Linked DNA regions of Homo sapiens: region 2 is linked to region 1. Evidence: promoter capture Hi-C in human tissues and cell types (Jung and others, 2019). All regions are on one chromosome and are shown on one strand. Each heading gives the region's core, a stretch centred on a gene start or on the middle of the fragment in contact. The rest is flanking DNA. Distances are from core to core; before and after follow the strand shown.

Region 1 (5,950 bases), core at 1,842-4,341:
GCTCTGCCCAGAGCAAACTCTGCCACGACAGGGCTGAGGCGCAGGGAGAAAGGAGCTGGGATGCACCCCAAGCACCTTCCTCCCCCTCACTCTCCCTCCTCCCTCTGCCATCCTTCCCCCACACCCAGGACCGGAAGGGCGAGCGTCTCTTGTCTTTCCTGCATGTTCTGTCAGCCCCTTCCACTCTGGCCCCCAGTCTAGACCTATTGTCGAGACAGGAGAAATCTTGTCTGCCCCCAGGGAGAAACACTGCTCTCTGCCCTGAACTTGGAGGGGCTAAAAAGCAAAAGCTCTAGCCTTAGAAGGTTCTCACTTTGGAAGTTTAAAAAAGGTCAAAGGAATTTTCAAAATCCCTTTCTTTCTCAACAATGCTTAGATTTCAAACCTCTTCTCTTGTTGCAAAATCCCGTTGTGAACATCAGAACCTCGAGATGATCTTTAAGTTTTCTCAGCATTCCCCATCTTCTCTCCCCTCTGCAAGCAGCTAAAAGTTACAGAAGCAGTTGAAGCCAGCAACTCCCCACCCCCATCTCCTCCTCTCCTGGGGACAGGGGCCCCATCTCTCAGCCCTGTTGTGGGTTGGGTGTGGCCGGTGTGGCTGTGTGGCAGGGTCCTAGCCAATGGGATTCGAGTGGAACGTGGGCCTCCTGCACACCTGGCCCCGTGGGCAGGCACCACCTGGGCTCCTCCCTCAGTGCACCAGGGCAGAGCAAGATGGAGGCAACCGGGATCCCTGAATGGCTTCACAGAGGTCCCCACCCATCAGGCACACTTCTGCCAACCTCATGTGGAAGTAAGCTTCTATTGCATTAAGTCCCTGAGGTGCTGAAGCTCATCAGTTGATGGCAGGCCACTTGCATGCAAAATAGAAAAGGACATCGGTATTTTTTTCAAGCTGTTACCCTGTTATAGAGATAAAAGAAGCCAGAACCAGCCCCCTCCAGTGGCTCCTTCTCTTCAGCCTGGGCAGGATCTGTTGAAATTCCCATGGTGTCCTCTGGGGCCCTCTGCCCTGCGCCTCTCCCTGGCAGTGCGAGGTCCACAGTTCACCTGCAATTAGCTCCCATGTGCAGGGGACTCATAAAGGAGCATCTTTGAGCTCCAGACCCAAGTGTCTGGTGGCCTAGAGGCTGCGAAGGCCCTCAAGCTCAGCATATCCCAAAGCAAACCTATGGCATTCACTCCAGCACACACCTGCTTTGGCCTCCATGAATCCACTCTCTTCCCTCATCGCTCAAGCTAGAAACTTCTTAGCACCACCCTCGCTGTTCCTGTACCCCCCCACCTTCAGTCAATCATGGAGTCCTAAGTCCCCGGCCAGTCCATCACCTCTCTCCCTCTACCAACACCCCCAACTCTCCCACCTGTGCCACCCGGTACGCCCATGTGGTCCCCTGGTTCCCTCCAATCTGTTTTCACTCTGAGCTTTATGATCTTTGCTAACTGTGAATAGGATTCATGCCATCCACTCCCCTACATAAAACCTTTCTAGGCTTCTCTTTGCTCTTAGAAACTGGCAACTGCCTAAGAGGCCACACCTGGGCCTGTCCCACCTCCCCAGCCCTCACCTCCTTCCCAGGCCTCTGCATCCCTGTCCCCCTCCACTTCCTTTGCAGTGTGCCTCCAGGCCCTCTCCCCTCCGGAGCTCTGCCAGTGCAGAGCTCTCTGAGCCCTCTGTGTGGGACATGCTGTTCTCTCTACTTGGCCTGGTAGGGCTCCTTGAGGAGCCCTCGACCCTCCCAATGGGGTGGAATCCGCCGCGGTAAACTTCCACAGGGCCCCGTGCCCCCACTCTGCAGCGCTTCCCTGGGGTTATTATTCCACTACCAGCTGCATAATTATTTCATCCGTAATTATTGGACTCAGCCCAGCTCACTTCTGCCCCTGGCCTTTGCACTTGCTCTTCCCAGTGCCTGGCGTGACCTTCCCCACACGTCAGTCTGGCTGGCCCCCCTAGCTCCTCAGGTCCTTCTTTTCTTTTTGAGATGGAGTCTCACTCTGTGGCCCAGGCTGGAGTGCAGTGGCACGATCTCAGCTCACTGCAACCCCTGCCTCCCAGGTTCAAGCGATTCTCCTGCCTCAGCTGAGTAGCTGAGATTACAGGCACCCAGCACCACGTGTGGCTAATTTTTATATTTTTAGTAGAGATGGGGGTTTTGCCATGTTGGCCAGGCTGGTCTCGAACTCCAGACCTCAGGTGATCTGCCCCTCTCGGCCTCCCAGAGCGCAGGGATTACAGGTGTGAGCCACCGTGCCCGGCCTGCTCCGCAAATCCTCCTTCTAGTGTCACCTTCCAGGTGAGGACTCGCCAACAACCTGATAGAAACCTGCAAGGCCAGCGCCTCTGCAGCCCCACACTCCCTAACCCCTTCTCTAGGGCATTGCCATCTTCTGACATACCATTTATTTTATGTCTTGTTTAATGTGTGTGTGTCTCTCTCTTAAATGTCATGCAGCCGGGTGCGGTGGCTCACACCTGTACTTTGGGAGGCCGAGGCAGAAGGATCACTTGAGCCCAGGAGTCGAGACCAGCCTGGGCAACATAGCAAGGCCCTGCCTCTCTGTATTTTAAAAAATGAAGTAAATAATAAATACATAAAGTATTTATGTATTTACTTACATTACAAAGTTCCCCCAGGGGCGGGAACTTTGCCTTGTTCTTGCGGCATCCCCAGTGCCTTGGACAGCTCCGGGCCCAGAGTCGCGACGCCTCCAGCAGGCCCGGCTGCCCCACTGCGCACATGGGCACAGGCTTGGCACACGCACTGCGGCATTCACGTATCCGCGAACACATGGGTATCTATTTATACATGAAGACACGAAAATGTATTTATTTCTTTTAAAATCAGAAGAAAACGGTGAGAACTGTGAGGCCGGGGGGACGTTTTCCTCCGGGATCCTGGCAGATCCTGCAGACCGCGCCGTCGTGCGCGAAGCACCGGGACGGGCCTCCCGCGGGAAGGGCCCAGGAGGACACCGGGCTCCCCTCCCGCCCGCGGGGCCCCAGACGCGGCGCCGCTTTAAGGCTCCGGGCCCCGCGCGGATGCGGAGGCTGCGGCCGTGACGTCAGCGCCCCGCCCCGGGTGATGCTGCAGCAGCCGGGACCGCGGCCGGGCAGGCAGCAGCCCAGCGGGGACAGGGATGCCTGCCGTCTCCACCCACAGGTACCACCGTCTCCTCCGCGCCCTCCGCCCGCTCTCTGGCTCCGTGCCTGCCGGGGCGCCGCGCCCTGGGCCCCGGGGTAGTCAGGGCGCCGAGACCGGGACCCGAGGCCGGCACGGAGACCTTTGTTCCTCGTGGAAGTCTCATGAATTGCAGAGTCCACGGAGCTCCCCCGTCTCGCCCCTCCGAGGGCAGGAGCCTCGGGCCCAGGGGAGGGTGCCGGCCAGATGGCAGGTGCTCTCATCCTTGCTGGCAAGGGGAGGAGACCCCGGCCTTGGCCCCAGCTCCTGATGCGCTCCTTGAGCCGGAGGCCTGGTCCCTAGTCACCTGGGCAGGTGTCATCCGCTCCCGGCTCACCTCTTGCGTGGGGCTGAGCCCTCTTGTTGACCAGGGGCCTGGCAACGCCCCTCAGCATCCCAGGGTTACTTAGCGAGGGCACCGAGGACTCCCCTTTCCCGAGCGAGTCAGCACCAAGGGGAACGCGCTGAGGTGGAAGCCGTTCAGCTCCTTCTGCCCTCGACAATCAGCAACTTCTCTAATTATTTCTAGAGTGACAGCCGTGCATGTTTTTCAGCTCTTACAGGGAAGCAGAGTCAGGGGCGGAGGAAAGCCACGTTCAGGCTGCACCTGGCCTGGGCTTTTGGGAAAAGTTGGCCCTGGAGTAGGGGTCAAGCTGCCGGAGATGCAAAGTGGGAAACGGCCACGATTCAGTAACTAGCCTATTAAGTGCACCCTCCCAAGTCCGTAGAGCACCTTCCTGGTCCTGGAGGACCTCACTGAAGAATTTTGAGAATGGGTAGAAAGAAGCATGAGGGGTCGGGCGCGGTGGCTCATGCCTGTAATCCCAGCACTTTGGGAGGCTGAGTCGGGTGGATCACCTGAGGTCAGGAGTTCAAGACCAGCCTGGCCAACATGGTGAAACCCCATCTCTACTAAAAATACAAAATTAGCCGGGCGTGGTGGCACATGCCTGTAATCCCAGCTACTTGGGAAGCTGAGGCAGGAGAATCGCTTGAACCCAGGAGGCGGAGGTTGCAGTGAACCCAGATCATGCCACTGCACTCTAGTCTGGGCGATAGAGTGAGACTCCGTCTCAAATAAACAAATAAGCAAATACGCCCTAGGAAGGGAGGTGGCCCAAGGCAACCCCGTGGGGGGAGCTCATTTTCATAACGAGAAGAAAGAAATGAGGAAATGGTTTCCGCTCGTAGTAGGATCATTGTAAGCATTCAAACTACATTGACATTGATTACTTTTATTAATCATTTGCCGCTTAAACTTCCCACAACACAGTTTGAGGAATCTGTTACTTTAAGCATCCTCTGTACTCTGGAAGCACAGTGGACCCCTTGCATAGCCTTCGGGGGATCCAGGGAGATGAGTGGATTTCCTTTTGACCGAGTAAATGGTCATATGGTACAGTAAAGATGGTCTGGCGAATGTTTGTATTTGTGCATGAAAATTAGATTTTATGATCTTAAATTCCACTTTCACCCATTTTTATGGGAACCTTAAAAATGGATTTTTGTTGTTGTTGTTGTTGTTTTTTGAGACAAGAGTCTCACTCTGTTGCCCAGGCTGGAGTGCAGTGGTGCGATCTCAGCTCGCTACAACCTCCACCTCCTGGGTTCAAGCGATTCTCCTGCCTCAGCCTCCGGAGTAGCTGGGATTACAGGCACTCGCCACCATGCCCAGCTAATTTTTTGTATTTTTAGTAGAGACGGGGTTTCTCCATGTTGGCCAGGCTGGTCTCGAACTCCTGAGCTCAGGTGATCCACCCACCTCGGCCTCCCAAAGTGCTGGCATTACAGGCGTCAGCCACTGTGCCCGGTCTCAAAAATGAGTTTCTAAAATTCTTCTTATGATAAACATTTGTGAACAGTTTTTACTAAATGTAGTTTTAATAAAAATGGTAATGCTGATCCCCAGATTTGAAGATGAATCCTTAGTAAAGACTTCTTCTGAGCCAGGATTAAGCTAGGTTTAATTCTGGTTCAGATGCTAGAGAGAAGTTCATTGAGTGTGTGAGGATCTCCCTTCTGCTAGGACAGGCTGCAGTGGGGTGTGGCGGAGGTGGCAGTAGAGTTGTCCTCTTGCAGGTAGAGAAGTGGGCCGTCTACATAGTCCACTTTAAATAAGGTCAAAGAGGCTCCTCTTTTCAAAAAGACACTTCAGGGGCTGGGAATGGTGGCTCATGCCTGTAATTCCAACACTTTGGGAAGCCAAGGCAGGTGGATCACTTGAGCCCAGGAGTTTGAGGCCAGCCTGGGCAACATGGCGAAACCCCATCTCTACAAAAAAATACAAGAATTAGCCTGGTGTGGTGGTGTGCACCTGTAGTTCCAGCTATTTGGGAGGCTGAGGTGAGAGGATCACCTGAGCCCAGGGAGGTTGAGGCTGCACTGAGCGATGATGACTGCACTCCAGCCTGGGCTAGATAGAGGGAGACTCTGTCTGTCTGTCTGTCTGTCTGTCTCTCTCTCTCTCTCTCTGTTTCTCTCTCTCTCTACACACACACACACACACACACACACACACACACACACACACCTGCCATATGCTGTTTAAAGCTGAAGTTTTTCCAAACTGGGCCACAGTTCTTCATTCCAAATTTAAAGGGAAGGTTTCTAATGCACTTAAGTTCACATTATGGTTAAAATGCTGATTAGAAAGAGTGGGAGATATGCCTGTGTGCCTGCAGGTGGGGAGAGGCTGGGCAGAGGGACAGAAAGGGAGATGGCCACTGAGAGCATACGTGGGGCTGTGACCTTTGGGCGGAGTCCGATCC
Region 2 (6,321 bases), core at 407-2,906, 250 kb after region 1:
CTCGGCCTCCCAAAGTGCTGGGATTTCTGGTGTGAGGCACCGCACCCGGCCAGAACTAGCATAATGAATTTTTAAAGAGAAGTTAAGTAGATGAAAGAAATAGAAGACCATGGCCACATCCATCTGACTAGGCTGCTTACTGCTTGTAGGCACTAGGATCAAGGTTAGAGGCTCATTTTCAAAACCTATGAGTGGTATTCAATTCAAAAGACTGTTGTCAAGAGATAACATCAGCATCTGGGTCTGTGTGAAAGGATTTAAATCACCTTCTATCAGATGTTGAAGCATGAAGGGGGAATGGTAGGAAGGCAGATGACTATTCACAGTGTTTACAATCAAGATATACAAATAACTGGCTACATACAAACACTCAGAAAGATGATGTAACTATGAATGTACTGAAGCACAGGCTCAGATGATGGGCAATAATTTCAAAACCACTGTTTCTTGATGATGCCTTGTTTGTTAAACTTCTGCCGCTGTTAAATTATTTTTACACTTTAATATGGAGAAAAATCAACCAATATTTTGGTAGGAACTAAAACAGTGCATGAAAACTAAATCATCTCTGAAATGCTAGCTAAGGAGTCAAAACTCATTAAGGATTTTCTACTTAGGATTATATTGTGTATGAACACTGAAATTTTCAGACAATTCATTCTTGTATTTGTTTGTAGCAGAGAGGCCAAAACTAAGCACAGGTAAAACCTTGGGAATATTTGTACTTCTTGCCCTCATCTGTAAACTACAAGGCTGGGTAACTAGATGACCTCTGTTGTCCTTAATATCACACACACACAGAGATAAACTGTACGTCAAGGGGACTTAGCAGATAGGGACAGACATAGCAAACTAAAGAGCACTTCTGTAGCTCCCCAAAAGTATCCCACAATGTACTTCAACCTGACTGTGGGGTTAATATCAGGTGTCTGAACTGGATTAAGGGACATCTAGATAGTTGGTAAAGCATTATTTCTGGGTGTGTCTGTACAGGTGTTCCTAGAGGAGACTGGTGTGTCAGATGGTAGCCTGTGTGGGAAGATCTGCCCTCAATGTAGGTGGGACAGCATCTAATCGGCTGGGGTCCAGAACAGAACAAAAAAAAGCAGGGAAAAGGAGACTTTGCTCTCTCTCCAAGAGCTAAGACACCTTTCTTCTCCTACCTTTGGACATCAGAACTCTAGGTCCTCCAGCCTTTGGACTGAGGACTCACACCAGCGGCCCCCCAGGCTCTCTGGCCTTCAGCCTCAGACAGAGTTGTACTATAGGTTCCTTTGGTTCTGAGGCTTTTGAACTTGAACTGAGCCATACTATCAGCTTCCCCGCATCTCCAGCTTGCAGATGGCCTGCGATGGTCTAAATGTTTGTCACCCTCAGAAACTCATTCTGAAACTTAATCCCCAATGTAACAGTATTAACAAGTGAGGCCTTTAAGAGGTGATTAGATCACAAGGAGCCTGATAACTCATTAATTCATTGATGCATTCATGGGTTAACGACTTATCACAAGAGTGAGTCTCTTATAAAAACCAGGTTGGCTCTCTCTTGTGAGCCCTACTGTCCTGGATGCCTTCTACCACATTATGGCACAGCACAAAGCCCTCCCCAGAGGCCAACCAGATGCAGCCCCTTGACCTGGGACTTCACAGCCTCCAGAACTATAATAAATTTATTTTCTTTATAAATTACCCAGTCTCAGGTATTCAGAAAAAAAGACTAAGACATGGCTATCATGGGACTTAGCTTCTATGATGGAGTGAGATTTATTATTCCCTTAATAAATCCCCTCTCATCTGTCTGTCTATCCATCTGTCTATCTTTCTATCCAGCCAGCCAGCCAGCCAATTGGTTCTGTCTCTCTGGAGAACCCTGACTAATACACTGACAAATACTAAATGTCAGATTCAGCTTTAAAAGTTCAGTTTTGAAGGGTCAATTTGGCAAGACGAAATTTCGCAGATAAATTAAAATCCTACCCTTGGACCTCCAAAATCTGCTGACCAAACACAAAAATGAATCCCATTCTAAACAGTATTCTCCCAGCAGCTCTGGTTTTATCAGATCAACATTCTGAAGCACAAATTTTCTCTTTGGTCCAAAGGATTTCTCCCATAAAGGAAGAAAAAAATAGCTATTCGTAGAGAGTGTAATAAGAAATTGTCAAATTCCCCCTTAATCCCTACTAAAGCTTTAAACAGTCCATTAAATTTCTTTAAAAGCAAAAAAAAAAAAAAAAGAGTACAAATATCACAAAATTTGACATTTTTGTAATAATACTTTGGTTGTTGTTTGGTGACGGCGGTGATGGCAGTGATATTATTCATTTGGAGGGAATTAATGACTTCTTACACATGACATAGCCAGAAAAGTTACAGAGCTCAACCACACATCAATGGTGGGGTCAGACTTTGCGGTAATGAGCAGGATGTCAAAGAAAGGGTGGGGAATTTCTCACATTATTTAACATCACATTATTTTATAAGTAAGACTTACCAACTTATGATTAAAGATACATGGCAGAGATTTTACAATTAAAAACCGATGATGAGCTACCATGATAATATTTCCTTGAGGTTGGGCACAGTGGCTCACATCTGTAATTCCAGCACTTTGGAAGGCAGAGGCATGAAGACCGCTTGAGCCCAGTAGTTTGAGACTAACTTGGACAACAAAGTCAGACTCTGCCTTTACAAAAAATTTAAACATTAGACAGGCATGGTGTCATGCTCTTGTAGTCCCAGTTATTCTGGAGACTGAGGCGGTAGGATCTCCTGAGCCCAACAGCTAAAGGCTGCAATAAGCTATGATGGCACTGCCACACTCCAGCCTGGGTGACAGAGCTAGACCCTGTCTTAAAAAAAAAGAAAATATTTTATTGACTCAATACACTTTTTACAGAAGGACCTCTCAAACATCTTAAGCTTCAAGATTCCTTAGATTCTTAAAAATTATTAAAGAGTCAAAGAACATGGGTTATAGCTTATCAGTACTTACTGTATTTAAAAATAAAAAAATTTCTGGCTGGGTGCGGTGGCTCATGCCTGTAATCCCAGCACTTTGGGAGACTGAGGCGGGCGGATCACGAGGTCAAGAGATCGAGACCATCCTGGCCAACATGGTGAAACCCCGTCTCTACTAAAAATACAAAAATTAGCTGGGCATGGTGGCTCGTGCCTGTAGTCCCAGCTACTCAGGAGGCTGAGGCAGGAGAATTGCTTGAACCGGGGAAGTGGAGGTGAAAGTGAAATTGCGCCACTGCACTCCAGCCTGGCGACAGAGTGAGACTCCATCTCAAAAAATAATAATAATAAAAATAAAAAAATAAATTTTTTTGTAATTTATGAATTCATTAATAACAGTAATAAACCCACTACATGCTCGTGTTAACATAAATAATTATAACAAATAACTATAATTTTTAGAACGAACATAATGTAGGAAATGAGTAACACTTTTATTTCTGCAAATCTCTTTTACTTCTGGCTTAATAAGAAAACAGATTCCCATATCTACTTCTGCTTCTGTATTCAATCTGTTGAGCTATATCACACATCATTTAGCCTTTTGTGGAATGCACTGTACACTCCTGAGAGAATGACAGTGAAAAAAAGCAAATGACGTCTTGGTATCATTATGAAAACAGTTCAACCCTACAGACCCCTGGACCATAGTTAAGAATGGCTGGTCTCTGAGATGAAGTCGACAAGCTGCACAGATGGCTCCAGGTGCCCTCTCTTTTAGACACAATCATTTAAATAAAAAGTATGCTCCCGAAACAGCACAATGACTAGAGATTTTAAGGCACAAATTCATTTAGATGTCAGATACTATTAAAAAAGATTTCATTATTATTTATACAACCAAACACTCCAGACATTCCAGTAGAGAGCAGAAGTTACACAAGAAGAAAAATCTAAATAGGAAGCTCTCATTGTCAAATTTAAGGTATCTTTCCAAAAACTGAGCTCAGGATATAAAAGAAATATTTAAAGCTTGATTCAAACAAGTATTTGTCTACATTAAAAAGGTATACTACTTTAAAACAACGGTGAACCCTTGAAGCTGAAAGCATGCAGAAAATAATAACCTAGATAATTTCCGCTATTCCAGGCAACTTTCTGGCCATTTCAAAAATGATACTGCTTCCTACCTGAGAAAACTGGCATCATTAAACAAAACCTTTAAGAAAAAGAAAGATATTAGCTTACAATGTTAACTGAATCATATCTTTTATAATGACTAATATACCTAATTTATGTGAATCTAGCAATATTCCGCCCTCTCCTGGTGATATGCTTTTTGTACCACTGCTGTCTGAATTAAACCCTGAGTGTAGAGTTGGTAACACAGTAAAGTAATTTTTAGCAACACAAATATTTGCACTTTTAAGAAGCACTAGAGACACAGTTTTAGAAATTACTGACTCAAAAGTTGGCCTGCATAATAGGAATCCAAGTACAGCCAGCAACTTACCAATAAACAAATTCAAATAGTTGGATAAGAAAAGGGAAAATCAGCAGGAACACTAAAAAATTATATTTTCCTGGTTTACGTAAATCAGTCTGTCTTATCTTAAATATCTTAATTATTTCTTCTCTTCCTTTAACTTAAACCAAAACAAAGACGGTAACCTTTAATACTAGTTAGTCTATTTATAACCGTTCCATCTACAAACATTTTTCTAATACAAACATGCCCTGATAGCTTATCTTGGTGCACATGCCAGACAACAAAGGCCCACTGGCCTGCTGGAGAGGAGAAATGGAAAGCAGGAAATGAGAAGCCTTAGTTAATCTCCAAATAATCGATCAGTGTATTCAGTCAAGTGTGAGCTGAGCTGGGAAAATGCTGCTTTAAAAAAGAAAGAAAGAAAATCAAAGAGCATGTGACTGGAGCCACAATTCATTTTAAAATAGGGTAATTTTTGTCAAAAAGATTCTGCATCACGTTCAAGCACCAACAACAACATACGGAAATGTTCATATCTTCTGCAGTAAGACCCCTTCCTTTAAAATCTCTTGTCATCTTTTTTCAAAAACAAGTTCCAACTTTTGGGCTTTGTTTCTTATTTCAGTTTATCTTAATTATTGAGGTATAATTTACATACACACAATAAAATTAACTTATTTTGTTTCTACTAGTTTTGACAAATGTATAGAGTTGTGTAACCTCCACCAAAATCAAGATAGGCAACATTCCCATTACCACAAAAAGACCAACTTCCATTACAGAATCAACATTTGCTGTGATGAAAAGGCTTTGGGTGCCAGTGTTGCCAGAAAAGCAACATTCTAATCTAACTTCCTTCCTCCATTTTAGCACACAGAGAAGTTAATATGGAGAAAAACAATTCAGAGTCTGCTGTGACTCTTCTATCTATTGCTAGAGAATACTACAGACAGGAATCCCATGATCTTTAAATCAAGTAATCGGCTAGATAAAACTTCTGGGCTAAGAGGTAATATGGTCTCAGGAAATTCCTAGAACATACAACAGTTTTAGCGACAAGTGATATAAAAATAAACAAAAATAATTTCAAATTAGATCTGAGATATACTTTCCTCAAACTATATAAGGAATATTTATTGGGCATCTGCTAGGCACCAGACACTGTTCTGGAGATGGTTGCTGAGTATATAGAAGTGGGAAAAACAGGAAGTCCCAGTCCTGGTAGAACTTCCATTCCAATGGAGGAGAAGACCCCTTACCAATTCCCCCAACCCTCTCCTCTAAAATGTCCAATAACGGTTAAGTGCTTTTAGAAAGTTATGATGAATGAAATCTGCCACTTAGTAACCATAAATCCTAGGCAAGTAACATTTATTTACACTGTTATTTAATCTCTTTGGATATTATTTTCCTTAAAATTAGTGGTCTTCTCAAAAGTACTTCAGGATAGCAGGAAAAACTGTATTGTGACCTGATATGTCATATACAGAGACAGGTTTAAATAACCCTAATGATTCCATACACCAGTTTCTCTACCTACAGGACCTAGGAGGAAACCTAAATGTCTTGCTTGCTTGCTATCCTGAGCGTGTTCATGAAAACTCCCAAAGGTGGCTCTACTTTCTTGCTTTATCTTTCTTATTTTTCTTTTTAAAGTTTTATTATGAAATATTTGACAGGCAGAAAGGTATAAAAATAACAGAACCATCTGTACCAAACATACCTAAAGCAACAAAAACATTATCGAACCTAAAGAAGCTGCCTGTGGAACCTGCCTACAGCCCAGAGGTAACCACCACCTTGAATTCACTGATCATTCCCATCCAGTACTTCATGCTTTTACTTAATATATATATATAACTAAAAATACAT

The links. Contacts are between HindIII fragments. The study calls those that stand out against the background at their distance.
Region 2: a contact is called between a fragment that was not itself captured here and the fragment with the promoter of SLC45A1 in region 1, in 2 of the 25 tissues and cell types used here (hippocampus and pancreas).

What each region holds. Positions count from the first base shown.
Region 1 is chr1:8,315,023-8,320,972 of GRCh38, forward strand. It overlaps SLC45A1 (solute carrier family 45 member 1), which reads left to right and starts at 3,092. Exons shown (of 9, transcript NM_001080397.3): 1 at 3,092-3,164. RefSeq lists a silencer at 2,922-3,201. The HindIII fragment of the contact is 6,823 bases long and covers 92-5,950 here.
Region 2 is chr1:8,567,038-8,573,358 of GRCh38, forward strand. All of the region lies in intron 4 of RERE (arginine-glutamic acid dipeptide repeats), which reads right to left. Among named protein-coding and RNA genes, the nearest start is that of SNORD128, 75 kb to the left of the region's middle. The HindIII fragment of the contact is 3,600 bases long and covers 1-3,456 here.